Linked DNA regions of Homo sapiens: regions 1, 2, 3 and 5 are each linked to region 4. Evidence: promoter capture Hi-C in 16 types of primary human blood cells and fetal thymus (Javierre and others, 2016). All regions are on one chromosome and are shown on one strand. Each heading gives the region's core, a stretch centred on a gene start or on the middle of the fragment in contact. The rest is flanking DNA. Distances are from core to core; before and after follow the strand shown.

Evidence for each region. Contacts are between HindIII fragments. The CHiCAGO score rates a contact against its expected background, and 5 or more counts as called.
Region 1: a contact is called between a fragment that was not itself captured here and the fragment with the promoter of HTR2B in region 4, in 10 of 17 cell types (erythroblasts, megakaryocytes, total CD4 T cells and 7 more). The highest score is 11.9, in erythroblasts.
Region 2: a contact is called between a fragment that was not itself captured here and the fragment with the promoter of HTR2B in region 4, in 2 of 17 cell types (megakaryocytes and endothelial precursors). The highest score is 7.2, in megakaryocytes.
Region 3: a fragment that was not itself captured here is called in contact with the fragment with the promoter of HTR2B in region 4 in 8 of 17 cell types (erythroblasts, megakaryocytes, M1 macrophages and 5 more); the score reaches 9.0 in erythroblasts.
Region 5: a contact is called between a fragment that was not itself captured here and the fragment with the promoter of HTR2B in region 4, in 2 of 17 cell types (endothelial precursors and megakaryocytes). The highest score is 5.3, in endothelial precursors.

The regions. Positions count from the first base shown.
Region 1 is chr2:231,446,484-231,449,320 of GRCh38, forward strand. No RefSeq gene overlaps it. Among named protein-coding and RNA genes, the nearest start is that of SNORA75, 8.0 kb to the right of the region's middle. The HindIII fragment of the contact is 7,975 bases long and covers 1-2,837 here.
Region 2 is chr2:231,407,732-231,410,431 of GRCh38, forward strand. No RefSeq gene overlaps it. Among named protein-coding and RNA genes, the nearest start is that of B3GNT7, 13 kb to the left of the region's middle. RefSeq lists an enhancer at 2,677-2,700. The HindIII fragment of the contact is 3,590 bases long and covers 1-2,700 here.
Region 3 is chr2:231,425,457-231,428,156 of GRCh38, forward strand. No RefSeq gene overlaps it. Among named protein-coding and RNA genes, the nearest start is that of SNORA75, 29 kb to the right of the region's middle. The HindIII fragment of the contact is 1,252 bases long and covers 719-1,970 here.
Region 4 is chr2:231,123,735-231,126,434 of GRCh38, forward strand. HTR2B (5-hydroxytryptamine receptor 2B) reads right to left here and starts at 1,308. Exons shown (of 4, transcript NM_000867.5): 1 at 1,238-1,308; 2 at 1-396. The coding sequence starts at 30. The region is part of intron 16 of PSMD1 (proteasome 26S subunit, non-ATPase 1); the gene reads left to right. The HindIII fragment of the contact is 5,824 bases long and covers 1-2,700 here.
Region 5 is chr2:231,464,219-231,467,095 of GRCh38, forward strand. It overlaps NCL (nucleolin), which reads right to left and starts at 266. Exons shown (of 14, transcript NM_005381.3): 1 at 118-266. The coding sequence starts at 135. RefSeq lists enhancers at 1-5, 6-675, 21-210, 721-820 and a silencer at 241-590. The HindIII fragment of the contact is 4,015 bases long and covers 1-2,877 here.

The sequences.
Region 1 (2,837 bases), core at 148-2,647, 320 kb after region 4:
CTGTAATCCCAGTACTTTGGGAGGATAAGGAGGGAGGATTACTTGAGGCTAGAAGTTCAAGACCAGCCTGGGCAACATAACAAGACTCCATTCCTACAAAAATTAAAAAAAAAAAATTTTTTTTAATTAGCCAGGCATGGTGGCATGCACCTGTGGTTTCAGCCACTTGAGAGGCTGAGGCAGGAGGATCGCTTGAGCCCTGGAGTTCCAGGCTGCAGCGAGCTACAGTCATGCCACTGCACTCCAGCCTGGGCAGTGGACAACAGAGCAAGACCCTGTCTCTTAAAAAAATAATAATAATAATAATAATCAGTACAATCTATAATGTGATGATACCCCTTCTTTCATTCCTGATAATGGCTATTTGTGTTTTGTCTTCTTTTTTTCTTGATCAGTCTTGCTAGAGGACTATCAATTTTATCTTATTTATCCTTTCAGTGAACTGATTTTTGTCTTGATTTTTTTACATCATTAATTGTTATTTTTATTATTTCCTTTTCCTATGTATTTCTTCTTTCTTTTTTACATGCTTAAGCTGGAAACAGACAGTTAACTTTAAAACTCTTTTTCTTTTCTAAAGTATTTTAAGTTATAAATTTCCATCTAAGAACTGCTTTAGCTGCATCCCAAAATGTGTTTTTATTGTCATTCATTTTGAAATAGTATCTAATTTCTCCCGTGATTTCTACTTTGATCCATTCAGAAGTGTTTTTCAGAAATGTAATTAATATACAAATGTTTAGGAGTATTCTAGGTATCTTATTATTCATTTCTAATTTATTTCTGTTATATCAGATTGTATATTTTCCAATCCTTTGAAATTTCTTGAGATTTGTTTTGGAGCCTAGAATATTTTGGTGAATGTTTTATGTGCACGTGAAAAGAAGATGTGTTTTTCAATAGCTAGACCTAAATGACCAACAGTTTTCAATTCTTCTATATCATTATTGATGTTTGTCTATTTACTTTATCTGTTACTAAATGAGGGGTGTTAAAATCTCCAACTGTGATTGAAAATTTGTCCATTTCTCTTTATCAATTTTTTGCTTCACAGGTTATAAAACTCTGTTATTGTTTGCATGCACATTTAAGATTGCTATGTCTTTCTAGTAAATTTACCTTTTTTTCATTATGAAATGTTGCTCTGGGCCGGGCGCAGTGGCTCACGCCTGTAATCCTAGCACTTTGGGAAGCCGAGGCAGGCGGATCACGAGGTCAGGAGATTGAGACCATCCTGGCTAACATGGTGAAAACCCGTCTGTACTAAAAATACAAAAAATTAACTGGGTGTGGTGGCGGGCGCCTGTAGTCCCAGCTACTCAGGAGGCTGAGACAGGAGAATCGCTTGAACCTAGGAGATGGAGGTTGCAGTGAGCCACTGCACTCCAGCCTGGGTGACAGCAAGACTCCGTCTCAGAAAGAAAGGTTGCTCTGGCCAGGTGTGGTGGCTCACACCAATAATCCCAGCACTTTGGGAGTCTGAGGCGGGAGATCACTTGAGCCCAGGCGTTTGAGACCAGCCTGGGCAACATAGCAAGACCCTGTCTCTATTAAAGAAAAAATTAAAAGAAAAAAGGAATTTGAAGGCAATTTCTATGCAGATTTTATGGTTTCCTCCTCTGTGTCTCCCTCATTTTCATTATTTCCCAAAATTTCCGACTCACACTCCAACCTGATTCCTCAGCACAGTAAGACATCCACTTTCTGCTCTATTCCCCCGGAGTCACGCAAGTTGGGTGATGCCCTCAGGGGAAAAGCTGGTTAAACATGGGTCTCATCCAGTGTGCTTCCCTTCTTTCCAGGATCGATACCATCTTCCCTGGGTTGCTCCAGTTTTCTATCTGGTATTATTGGAAGACAAATCAACTTTAGAAGTTGATCTTTAAATATTTCGCCCAGGGCCTGGTGCGATGGTTAATGCCTGTAATCCCAGCACTTTGGGAGGCTGAGGCAGGCGAATCACCTGAGGTCAGGAGTTTGAGACAGACTCGCCAGCATGATAAGACCTTGTCTCTACTAAAAGTACAAAAAATTAGCCAGGCGTGGTGGCACATGCCTGTAGTCCCAGCTACTCAGGAGGCTGAGGTAGGAGAATTGCTTGAACCTGGGCGGTAGAGGTTGCCGTGAGCTGAGATTGTGCCACTGCACTTCAGCCTGGGTGACAGAGAGAGACTCCATCTTCAAAAATAAAAATTAAAAAATAAAAAACTAAAAATAAAATAAATAAATAGTTTACCCAGAGTTTTTTTGTTTTGTTTTTTTTGAGACAGGCCTCCCTCTGTTGCCCAGGCTAGAGCGTAGTGGTGCAATCACAGCTCACTGCAGCCTCAACCTCCCCAGTGGCTCAGGTGATCCTCCCACTTTAGTCTCCCTAGTAGCTGGGACTATAAGAGCGTGACACCATGCCTGGCTAATTTTTTTTTTTTTTTTTTTTTTTATATATATAAGGTCTTGCTCTGTTGCCCAGGCTGGAGTACAGTGGTGCAATCTAGGCTCACTGCAACCTCTGCCTCCCAGGTTCCAGCGATTCTCCTGCCTCGGCTTCCCGAGTAACTGGGCCTACAAGCATACGCCACCATGCCCGGTTAATTTTTGTATTTTTAGTAGAGGTGAGGTTTCACCATGTTGACCAGGTTCGTCTTGAACTCCTGACCTCAGGTAATCCGCCCGCCTTGGCCTCCCAAAGTGCTGGGATTACAGGTGTGAGCCACTGCGCCAGGCCCGCCTGGCTAATTTTTGTATTTTTTGTAGAGACAGAGTTTCACCATGTTACCCAGGCTGGTATCAAACTCGGGGGCTCAAGCAATCCGCAGATCTTGGCCTCCCAAAGTGCTAGG
Region 2 (2,700 bases), core at 159-2,658, 280 kb after region 4:
CCACATGGGTACAAGACGGCTCATGGGGATACCAAACCCCCATCTACATGCTCAATCAGATCATACGGTTGCAGACCGTCTTAGAAATAATTACTAATGAAACTGGCAGAGCTTTGACTGTTTTAGCTCGGCAGGAAACCCAAATGAGGAATGCTATCTATCAGAATAGACTGGCCTTGGACTACTTGCTGGCAGCTGAAGGAGGAGTTTGTGGAAAATTTAACTTAACCAATTGCTGCCTACAAATAGATGATCAAGGACAGGTGATTGAAAACATAGTCAGGGACATGACAAAGTTGGCACACACGCCTATACAGGTTTGGCACAAGTTTGATCCTGAGTCTTTATTTGGAAAATGGTTTCCAGCTATAGGAGGATTTAAAACCCTCATTGTAGGTGTATTGCTAGTAATAAGAACTTGCTTGCTGCTCCCCTGTGTATTACCCTTGCTTTTTCAAATGATAAAAGGTATTGTTGCTACTTTGGTTCATCAGAAAACTTCAGCACACGTGAATTATATGAATCACTATCGCTCTATCTCGCAAAGAGACTCAAAAAGTGAGGATGAGAGTGAGAACTCCCACTAAAAAGTGAAAATTCTCAAAGGGGGGAAATAGGGAATGAGACCACCACTTCTCCTGTTGTCCTTCCCAGCTTCTCCCCAACCTCCCCTTTTCCCTAGTTTATAAGACGGGAGAAAAGGGAGAAAGCAAAAAGCTGGAAAGAAACAGAAGTAAGATAAATAGCTAGACGACCTTGGCGCCACCACCTGGCCCTGGTGGTTAGAATGATAATAATAATATTAACCCCTGACCAAAACGACTGGTGTTATCCGTAAATTCCAGACATTGTGTGAGAAAGCACCGTAAAACTTTTTGTCCTGTTAGCTGATGTGTGTAGCCCCCAGTCACGTTCCTCACGCTTACTTGATCTATTATGACCCTTTCACGTGGACCCCTTAGAGTTGTAAGCTCTTAAAAGGGCTAGGAGTTTCTTTCTCGGGGAGCTCGGCTCTTAAGACGCGAGTCTGCTGACGCTCCCGGCCGAATAAAAACCTCTTCCTTCTTTAATCTGGTGTCTGAGGAGTTTTGTCTGCGACTCATCCTGCTACACTGCTATTTCTCCCTCCTCAGCACAGGTCTTCCCACAGTTCTCTCTTGGCCAGCCGGCTGCATAATTTGCAGAGCCCAGTGCAAAATGAAATTACAGGACCCTGGTTTTAAAAAGGTATTAAGAATTTTAAAGGTCAGGCTCACGCCTGTAATCCCAACACTTTGGGAGGCTGAGGTGGGAGGATGGCTTGAGCCCAGGAATTTGGGACCAGCCTGGGCAACATAGAGAGACCCCTGTCTCTACAAAAAAAAAAATTTTTTTTTTTTGAGACAGAGGTCTCATTCTGTCGCCCAGGCTGGAGTGCAGTGGTGCGATCTCAGCTCACTGCAAGCTCTGCTTCCCAGGTTCGCGCCATTCTGCTGCCTCAGCCTCCCGAGTAGCTGGGACTACAGGCACCCACCACCACGCCTGGCTAATTTTTTTCTTAAAAAATTTTAAAATTACCTCAGAGTGGTGGCACGCACCTGTCTGGGGCCAAGGTTGCCAGAGATTGCCTCGGGATGCTGAGGTGGGAGGATCCCTTGAGCCCAGGAGGTCGAGGCTGCAGTGAGCTGTGATCGCATCACTGCACTCCAGCCTGGGTGACAGAGCGAGACACTGTCTCAAAAAAAAAAAAAAAAAAAAAAAGAATTTAAGATTGCCACAGCAGAGCATTGAGCATTAAACCAAGTGCTGGGAGCTTCTGAGGGAGGCCTGCGACTGTGATGCCAGCCCTATTTGCCCCTCCTCATCCTCAGAAGCCAGGTCCTGCTCTGGGCTGCAGAGAGGGGATTGGGGCTCACAGTTCAGCATGGGAGAGGGCAGCCCAGGGACACCCAGAAAATGGAGGTGTACAGGCCACAGGACCCAGGCCCAGGTGGAGGCCCAGAGACGGTTATGGGTTCAGCTGCCCCTGAAGGATGAGGCAGAGGGAACCACATATACCAAGGGCTGCTGGGAGCAGGGTGGATGCATTCTGAAGCGGAAAGGAGCTCCTCTCGGGGCTGGACCTGGGGTGAGAGAAGGGGTGGGAGGCTGGGAGGCAGGCAGGGCAGTTTCTCAGGTCTTCTAGGTTCAGGAGTACTTTAACTTTATCCTGAGCACAAAGGGACAAAGAGCAGGGGTTCACGGCAGCCTGAGGGAGCAGAGGGCAGTTTTGAGGCACCTCCACCCCTCCCTCTGGCGCACTTTGGCCCATTCTGGCCAGCTCCAGTGGGGCCCCACTCTGGAAAATCAGGCATTTAGTTTTGCTTCCTGGTAATGATAACAACTGACATTTTATGGAGCACATTTCATATGCCAGGCACCCTGGTAAACATTTAACGTGTAGTCAATATGACTTTAACTCAGGGTACAAATATGGTTACTTTTTAATTTTTCTCATTGATTGCTCAAATCCCTCATGTACCATTATTGGCAGAAAAATCCAATATCAGCCTCTTGGAACCCACTCTCAAATTGTCCAAGAACCTCAGGGATTTCCCTCCTCCAAAGAGAGGGTTCTCTGGAAAGTCTGAGCAGTCATCTCCAGTTGTTCCCTCTCTCTCCACACAGGGGCGCTGTGGAACAGCGGGCCTGCACAGTCCTGTGGCTTCTGAGGCTTGGCTA
Region 3 (2,700 bases), core at 95-2,594, 300 kb after region 4:
AGCAGGACTTCAGCTGGACAGGATGTGGCTCATGACAGCCACTTTCACATGGTTCCCAGAAGGGGAGCCAAAGGGTAGGAGGTCTCAGAGGTGGCAGCCTTCAGTCTCCTGCGAGAGGGAGAGGAGCCGCTGGTCTTCTCTTCCGCAAGTGACCAGTCAGGAGTCCGAGTCCACCCACAGAGGTTGCAGAAAGCAACAGGGCTTGCTCCAAAAGCCTGAACATCACTGGGGTCTGGGGCTGTAAGGGGGTACCGGGGGGCTCATGAGAGGGCAGTGTAAGTGCCTTCCTGCCCATCTTCAAGCCAGGCCCTGGAGCCAGCCACCTGCCTCAGCAATTTCCCCATTGCCAGTTCCAGGCCAGGTGAGACTCGTAAAATCACTCACAAAGCAGAATGTGTAGTCAGAGCTGGGGAAGCACCAGCCTGAGGGGCAGGAGGCTAAAGTCAGGAGCTGTGTACTAAGCAATTCACACGCTCCCTCTCCCCAGAGAGATCTGGCCTTTGTGCCTTTGTCCTGGCTCCTGGAAGACCACACCTGATGGTTTACCGTTACCCTAATGAGGTGACTCATGATGGGCCCCTGAGGGCGAGAGCTGTCAGAGCAACCCCCGGGGCGAAGAAACAAGCTAGAGACCCAGTTCAACCTCACAGGCAATGATTCCATCACCCTGCCCACAGAGGGAAACTGCAACACAAATTCTGACATCAAAGCCCGGGGAAGCTTCCGTGGTTGGCGGTACTCTGCGAATTGTCATACATCACAGCAAGGAGGAGGTGATGCCACACCCGTTGGCGGTACTCTGCGAATTGTCACACATCACAGCAAGAAGGAGGTGATGCCACACCGGTGGCTGCCAGCTCCTCATCAGGACCCTCCCTGGACTCTACCCTGTGTCTCTTCCTTTGGCTGGTTCTAATTAGTATCCTTTCCCGTTCATAAACATGGGGGCAATAGTGCTGTGCTTAAGGAAGCACCAGCAATTGGAGGTGAACCCAGACAGGAAGAATCCAGCCCCAGCCTTGTCCCGCCGTCTGAGGATGACACCAGGAAGTCCTGACCTCCCAGGACCTGAAGCAGAAGGGCGCTTGGTATGGTGACATGGGCGGGACGGTCTGCCACTGGGTCGACCAGCCCACCTTTGTGATGAACCTAAGTAGATTAATTTCATTTTCTGGGAGGGTGTAGTGGGTGGAGGGCACAGATAGTCAGCCAAAGTATCATCCCAGACCCAAAGAATCAGGGGATCTGTTTGCTTTTTCAATAAAAAGAGATGGGGGTAAGTTTGTGCAGATACGAGGAGCACTTAAAATCACAGGTAGAATAATAGGAGAAGAACAGAATTGTCTGAGTTTAGTGCAAGGAGAGGGAGAGGCCTCAGAGCCACTGGGGCAAACCCCAGCCCTTGCAAACAACGCTTCCTCAACACCCGTAGGCAGCCATGGTTTTTTCGGATGGATCTAGCTTGGGGCAACCACAGCTTAAGGAAGAACTAGGGGTACCGTGTCTTCAGCTGGGGAGCAGAGCCCACAGGCCTGCTGAGCCCTCAGCCTCCAGTTCCCCGGTGGGGCCTTCCAGCTTCACTGCTTCCTCAGAGCCTGTGGGAACATTGCTACCTCCACCCTTCACCATGATTGGTGTGGGCCTTTGCATTATCCTCTGTTAACCTGCAGGTGGTCTTAACCTGGGGTCCACGAATGCCCACAGGGTCCACAGAGAGCATTCAGGGGACTCATATGCATGGATGGGAATAAATAGACATCTTTGTTTTCACCAACCCTTAACTTTTCTTCAAAATTTGTTAAGGTAGTGGCAAAAAACCACAATAGTATTAGCAGTTCTGTGACTTTGTCACTATATCAGTCAGATCGCAACCAGAGAAACACAACCAGCAGGAGGTACAGCCCATGCTCCTGATTCGTGGTGGTTATGTTCTATAAAATCACCACAAACACTGGATTAGTGAATGTTGAAGCTTTGCTCCTGGGAGAAATTAGGTTCCTCCTTAGGTACCTGTGAGGGTCTGGTCACAGTATTTTCTTTCTTTCTTTTTTTTTTTTTGGACCGAGTCTCACTCTATTGCCCAGGCTGGAGTGCAGTGGTGTGTGGTGCATTCTCAGCAAACTGCAACCTCCACTGCCTGGATTCAAGTGATTCTCGTGCCTCAGCCTCCCAAGTAGCTGTGATTACAGGTGTGTGCCACCACGCCTGGCTAATTTTTTTTATTTTTAGTAGAGATGGGGTTTCACCATGTTGACCAGGCTGGTCTCAAACTCCTGGCCTCAAGTGATCCGCTCACCTCGGCCTCCCAAAGTGCTGGAATTACAGGCTTGAGCCACCATGCCCGGCCTAGTCACAATATTTTCCTCAGTCGACCAACGCATAACCTTTTTTTATGTTTGTTTCTGTTTAAAGACACTGAAGTTAATATACAGTTGATTCATTAATTTTTTTTTTTTAGATGCAGTTTTACTCTTGTTGCCCAGGTTGGAGTACAATGACATGATCTTGGCTCACTGCAACCTCCGCCTCCCAGGTTCAAGCCATTCTCCTGCCTCAGCCTGCTGAATAGCTGGGATTACAGGCATGTGCCACCATGCCCAGCTAATTTTTTGTAGTTTTTAGTAGAGATGGGGTTTCACCATGTTGGCCAGGCTGGTCTAACTCCTGACCTCAGGTGATCCTCCTGCCTCGGCCTCCTAA
Region 4 (2,700 bases), core at 58-2,557:
AAGTTCAGACACTCTGTAAGAGAGAGCCATTTGCTGTTTTTCTGTGATTCAATCCCGTTCCGAACAGTGGTCAGCATGGTTAGTAGCTAAGCTGCTCATCTGTTTTTTTAAGGCATTGTAACCATGCCAAACACTCAAAAGCCAAAGTTGACACCTTCCTTTAAAAAAAAAAATTCAAGTTCTCTAAAATGAGCGCATACACACATCTGTCCATGTTTGTAGGTAAGATATCCAAGTATTTATTATTTTCTAGAGGCTTAAATTTAGGAAAGCTCAGTGAAAGAAACTGATAGCTGTGAAAAAAATAGGATATATATATATTTTTAGTTTCTCTCTCTCTCTTTTTCTGCCGTAGTTGTAGAGTCGTGTTTGAACTTGCATGCCAGAGAGTTCCCCCTAGATACAAAATACATAGACTGCATTATTTTATTCATTTCTGAAAGTGGTAAAAACACTTGAACTTCATAGCCCTTCCCTTCTTAGTAAGTCTGTTGTGCATTTGTGACAATGCAGCCAATTCTCCAAATATACTGTATTTCTGATGTTGCTCAGTTAATGAAACAGAAGACACATTAATTTTTTCAATGGTTATAATAAAAAGTTAGGTGTTTCCTGACCCTTGAATGTCTTTTTACCTTTACTTACAGAAGAATAGAAAAGTCGAAACACAATAGTTCAGAATAGAACTTTTAGTATGCGCTGGCCACCCACCTAGAAACACTCAAAGCCCAACAAGGGTCTAAATAAATGTTTTACCAGCTAGGGATCCTTATATGTAATTAGCTTTGTCTTATCAGGTTTGTGAGTACTGATATAAATGTCATTTTAGATTTCCTTTAGTTTGAGAGAAGGAAAAAAAAAGGTATTACTAGGATCCAAATAATTGTGTTTAGTAATTTCATCTCTCATGGTATGTCTTTGCAACAATTGTGTTCTAAATTTAATCACTAAATTTGCCAAATTCAAACCAGTTCTTTTTTTGTTTTAAGTAGTGTTTATTTTTTTAACCTTCCCAGTTGCCTTGAGAAGAAAGGGAAACCAAAAGGAAGATTAGACCATTTATTTGTTCATCAAATGTACAAATCACGTTTTTAAAAACTCTCCTTTAGCATTAGTAAATTTTTCATTTTGATTTTTAAACCGCTGAATAGAAATGAAAGATTATGATAGCAGAATTCTTGAAGATTAAAAAAAAAAACCTTTAGATTAATTCCATATGTGTTTATTAAATGCTTACCTCTGGTTTCGTTGTTATTTTGCTGAGCATGTCATCTTATCTGTTCACTAGACTTGCTTGCTGCTGTGACTGAAATCCTCCTCCCATTGACTTATTCTGAGCCTCCAGCACAGGCGGTTGAAAGCAGTGAAACAAATACGTTGTATAGCTGCAAGCATGCCAAGGAGGTTATTTCCTCTTTGATACATTCATTTTTAGAGAGTAGCAGCATTCATTGTAATTCATAAAACCACTGTTAAGCATGTTGAACCAGTTCATGGCCCTTATTCAAGTTATATTTTTAAGAGCTCTCTTTAATATTTGGGGGGACTGTAATAAACTTGATCATTTTAGCTTCAGATAGTTTTGTTTGGGGTTAAGCCTGAGCTGTTTTTCACATTTGAGAAAAAATAAGATATAATCTAGCTATTTTAGAGGTTTCATTCTTTGAAGATTCTGCCGTTTTAAAAGCCTATAGTGATTTCTACAGTTCTGATTTCTAGCAGTGAAACAAGATTCTTATCTAGCTTTTGTGCCTTTGCTGTGGAACACCATTAATTTGCTCTGGTTGCAACCTTATATAGAAGAGCACAGAAAGGCCTGAATTCTACATGTATACATAGGTTTTAGCAGAAACTTTTTTACTGCTTATTTTTAAACAGATGATCTCTGGGTTTAGGAGTGGTTCACAGCTTTTTTTCCCCATAGACTTTACGTTGGAGAAAATACAAGTAATGAAAATACGTTTTTGCCTTATTTCAGAAAATTGGTGTTTAAATCTTAATAGTTATGCTATTTAAGTTTTCTGTAACCATAAGACTAGCTTAGTATTAGAACCTCAGCATTCTCAAGGTTTCCTTTTAAAAGATCATTATAGATGCATATTTTAAAATTAATTACTTATAAATCAGTGATGACATTTGTGCCCTTTTCTTGTTTCAAATTTGTATTCCTTTGCTCATGTTGAATGTTATTGGAAAATACTTAGTTCATTTTAGCTCTGCTGAGCACTTCAGATTTTATTCAGTATTTGCTGCTTTTTTAAAAACTCAAAATTTACTATATTAGAAAAAATACTTGTGAAGAATTCTAGATGAAATAATATTCAAGAGAAATCAGATGTTTTTTAATGTACCAGAATTTCTATTCAGGAATATGAAAATATTTTAAGGCAAGGTGCGGTGGCTCATTCCTGTAATTCCAGCACTTTGGTAGACCAAGACAGGTGGATTGCTTGAGTCTAGAAGAGACCAGCTTGGGCAACATGGCAAAACCCCATCTCTACAAAAAAAACCACATAAATTAGCCAAGGGTGGTGGTTCACACCCGTAGTCCCAGCTACTGGGCGGCGGCGGAGGGGTTGAGGGTTAGGGGTCAGGGGAGACCTGAGGCAGGAGGATTGCATGAACCTGGGGGAGGTCGAGGCTGCAGTGAGCTGAGATCACACCACTGCGCTCCAGCTTGGGGTGACAGAATGAGATCTT
Region 5 (2,877 bases), core at 256-2,755, 340 kb after region 4:
CAGCATGGCGCCCTAGAACGCGCCCGGGACTGCGCGCAGGCCCTCCTCCCCGCGGCGCCGCGCTCGCCCCTCGGAAAGCAGGCCTACACGTCTGCGCTCGCGCTCAAGGCCGTTTACCTTCGCGAGCTTCACCATGATGGCGGCGGAGTGTGAAGCGGACAAGTGGCGCAGATGAGTCCAGAAGAAGCCAAGCGACGGCGATGGCGGCCGCGGGTGCTGAAGATCCCGGAGCACGTACACCCGAAGGCCAGCGAGAGCTCGAGACTGAGGCGAAAGACTGAGCCTGCCCAGTAATCGCCTGTGGAAAGGCGACGACGGCGCCCTCGTGACTCCGCGCCGACCAACCAAAGCTCGCGGCCGTCCCCATGAGCCAATCGCGAGCCTCTAACCGTGAACGGCGCGGGGCGGGGAGTAGGCGGGCCGAGGCGGCCACGGGAGGGGGAGGGGCTGGCAACGGCGCCGTGGGGGCGGGGCTCGCTTTGTGCAAGGTCCGCGCTGATTGGGCCGTGGGCGCGCGGGTCCCGGCCTGCGTCGTGGGACTGGCGTTTTTGGCGCCGGCTGTGAGGGGAGCGCGGGGGTGGTGGAATCGGGCGGTCTCCGGTTCGCCAATGTGGCTGGGTCCGTAGGCTTGGGCAGCCTTGGAGTTCCTCAGAGACCCCGCGCTCGGTCCCGGCACGCACTCACGCCGCGGCTCCTGGTGGCCCTGGAGCGAGGAGTCCGCCAGCACCGGAAGTTCAGGGACCGCGGAGTTCCCGTTGGCCCTTTTGGAGGCACAGCTTATCCCTGCTTGCCCGCGAGCATGGGGCCGGAGGCACCCCCCGGCTGCAGGCAGTCTCCTGAGAGCTGTTAATAAAGGCAGTCGCGGGTCTGTGCGAGGTTTTCTGTGAGAAATGCACGAACCTCCCCTACCCCACAGAACCTCAAGCGGGAGATATTTCTCGACATGGGGAACGGCCTCGGAGAAGTAACTTTCTGGCCTCACAGGGCAGGGAGAGGGGCCTGGGAGGGCCGACCGCAGAGCCGGGCCTTTGACCGCCCACAGGTTCCCTGGTTATTATTTGGGTCGAATGCGCCAATTAAGGTGGTGGCTGCGAAGTCAGTGTCACCAGATGGCCCGGGAGCAGGTCGAGAGCCACCGGCAGGGTTCCCCGGCGGCAGGGCGAAGGAGGCCGCCAGTGACTTCCACGGTTAGCTTTGTGGGTGGGTCTCACTCGATGCCGGGCTTAGCAAACCAGAGCATTTCCCTCCGTCCAGGGCCTGCCGGGGATCCATCCCATCCATAGGTCCAGCTATGGATCCATCCATACCTCATTGTTCCTACAGAACCAGGATATCTGCAGCTACGGCTGTACTTGTTAAAAATCACCTCAGGCCGGGCGCGGTGGCTCAGATCCGCAATCCCAGCATTTTGGGAGGCCGAGGCGCATGAACCGGGGAGGCGGAGGTTGCAGTGAGCCGAGATCGCCCACTGCACTCCAGCCTGGGCGACAGAGCGAGACTCCGTCTCAGAAAGAAAAGCATTTGTTAAGGCCGGGTGCGATGGCTCATGCCTGTAATCCCAGTACTTTGGGAGGCTGATGCAGGAGGATCGCTTGAGTCCAGGAACTTGAGACCGGCCTGGGTAATATAATGCGACCCTGTCTCCACACAAAAAATAATTAGCGGGCATGGTGGCGCTCGCCTGGAGTCCCAGCTACTCGGGAGGCTGAGGTGAGAGGATCGCTTGAGCCCAGGAGGCGGAGGTTGCAGTGAGCCGAGATCGCGTCATTGAACTCCAGCCTGAGGAACAAGAGCGAAACCCCATCTCAAAAAAAAAAAAAAGAAAGAAAATAAAATTATTTGTTAAATGAATGAAGTATTTAGGTAGAAGCAGCAGCAGGGAGAGCCGGCATGGCTCAAGTGGCGTTGCTTTGGAGTTGGTCTGGGGCAGCAAAATAGCAATATCTAACACTTCATAATGCTGATTCAGTGCCAGGCGCTCTTCCAGCTCTTTACATATTAATTAACTTACTCTTCAAAATAACCTTTCCAAAAAGTTACCACTGTTTTACAGAAACTGGGACATAGAGGTAAATTAACTTGTCCAGGGTCGCATAGCTAGCAGTGGAGGCGTAGGATATAAGTGAAGACACTGCTGTGTCATCCCAGTTTCTTTTTTTTGAGACAGAATCTCACTCTGTCACCCAGGCTGGAGTGCAGTGGCAGGATCATGGCTCACTGCAGCCTTGACATCCCCAGCTATATCAATCCTCCCTCCTCAGCCTCCCAAAGGTGAGCCACCACGTCTGGCCTGTTTGTTTCTAAATGCTTTTTTGTTTTCTTTTGAAAACATGAGTATTTATTGAATTGTAAAGTATACACATAGTGCAAAATTCAAAAGATTCAAACAGATGCACAATAAAAGGTCTCCCTCCCGTTCCTGTCCCCTAGGCCTCCCAGTCTCAAGGCAGTGGCAGTCTCTTGTATATCCTTCCAGATTCAGCCGTACGTGCAAATAGACAAGTATATTTGTTATATTTAATACAAACGCTATCATATACACTGTTCTGAGCTCTTCTTTTGTGTTAACTATATGTATCTTGTAACTCATCCTACATCAGCACATGTAGAGCTGCCTCATTCTTTTTAATAGCTACATGGCATTCCTTGTGTGGAAGGATCACAATTTATCTAGTCACCATTGCTGGATAGTTAGGGTTTTTTGCTATGTTTGGCCATTACAAACTGCTATAGCAAATATTCTCACTTACGTTATTTTACACAAATCATATCTGTAGAACAGCTGGGTCAAGGGTATGGACTTTCACATTTTCATAGATGTTCTCCCAAGTGCTGTCTTTGGTTGGGGTTTTCCATGGCCGTTCCAGCCAAGAGCGA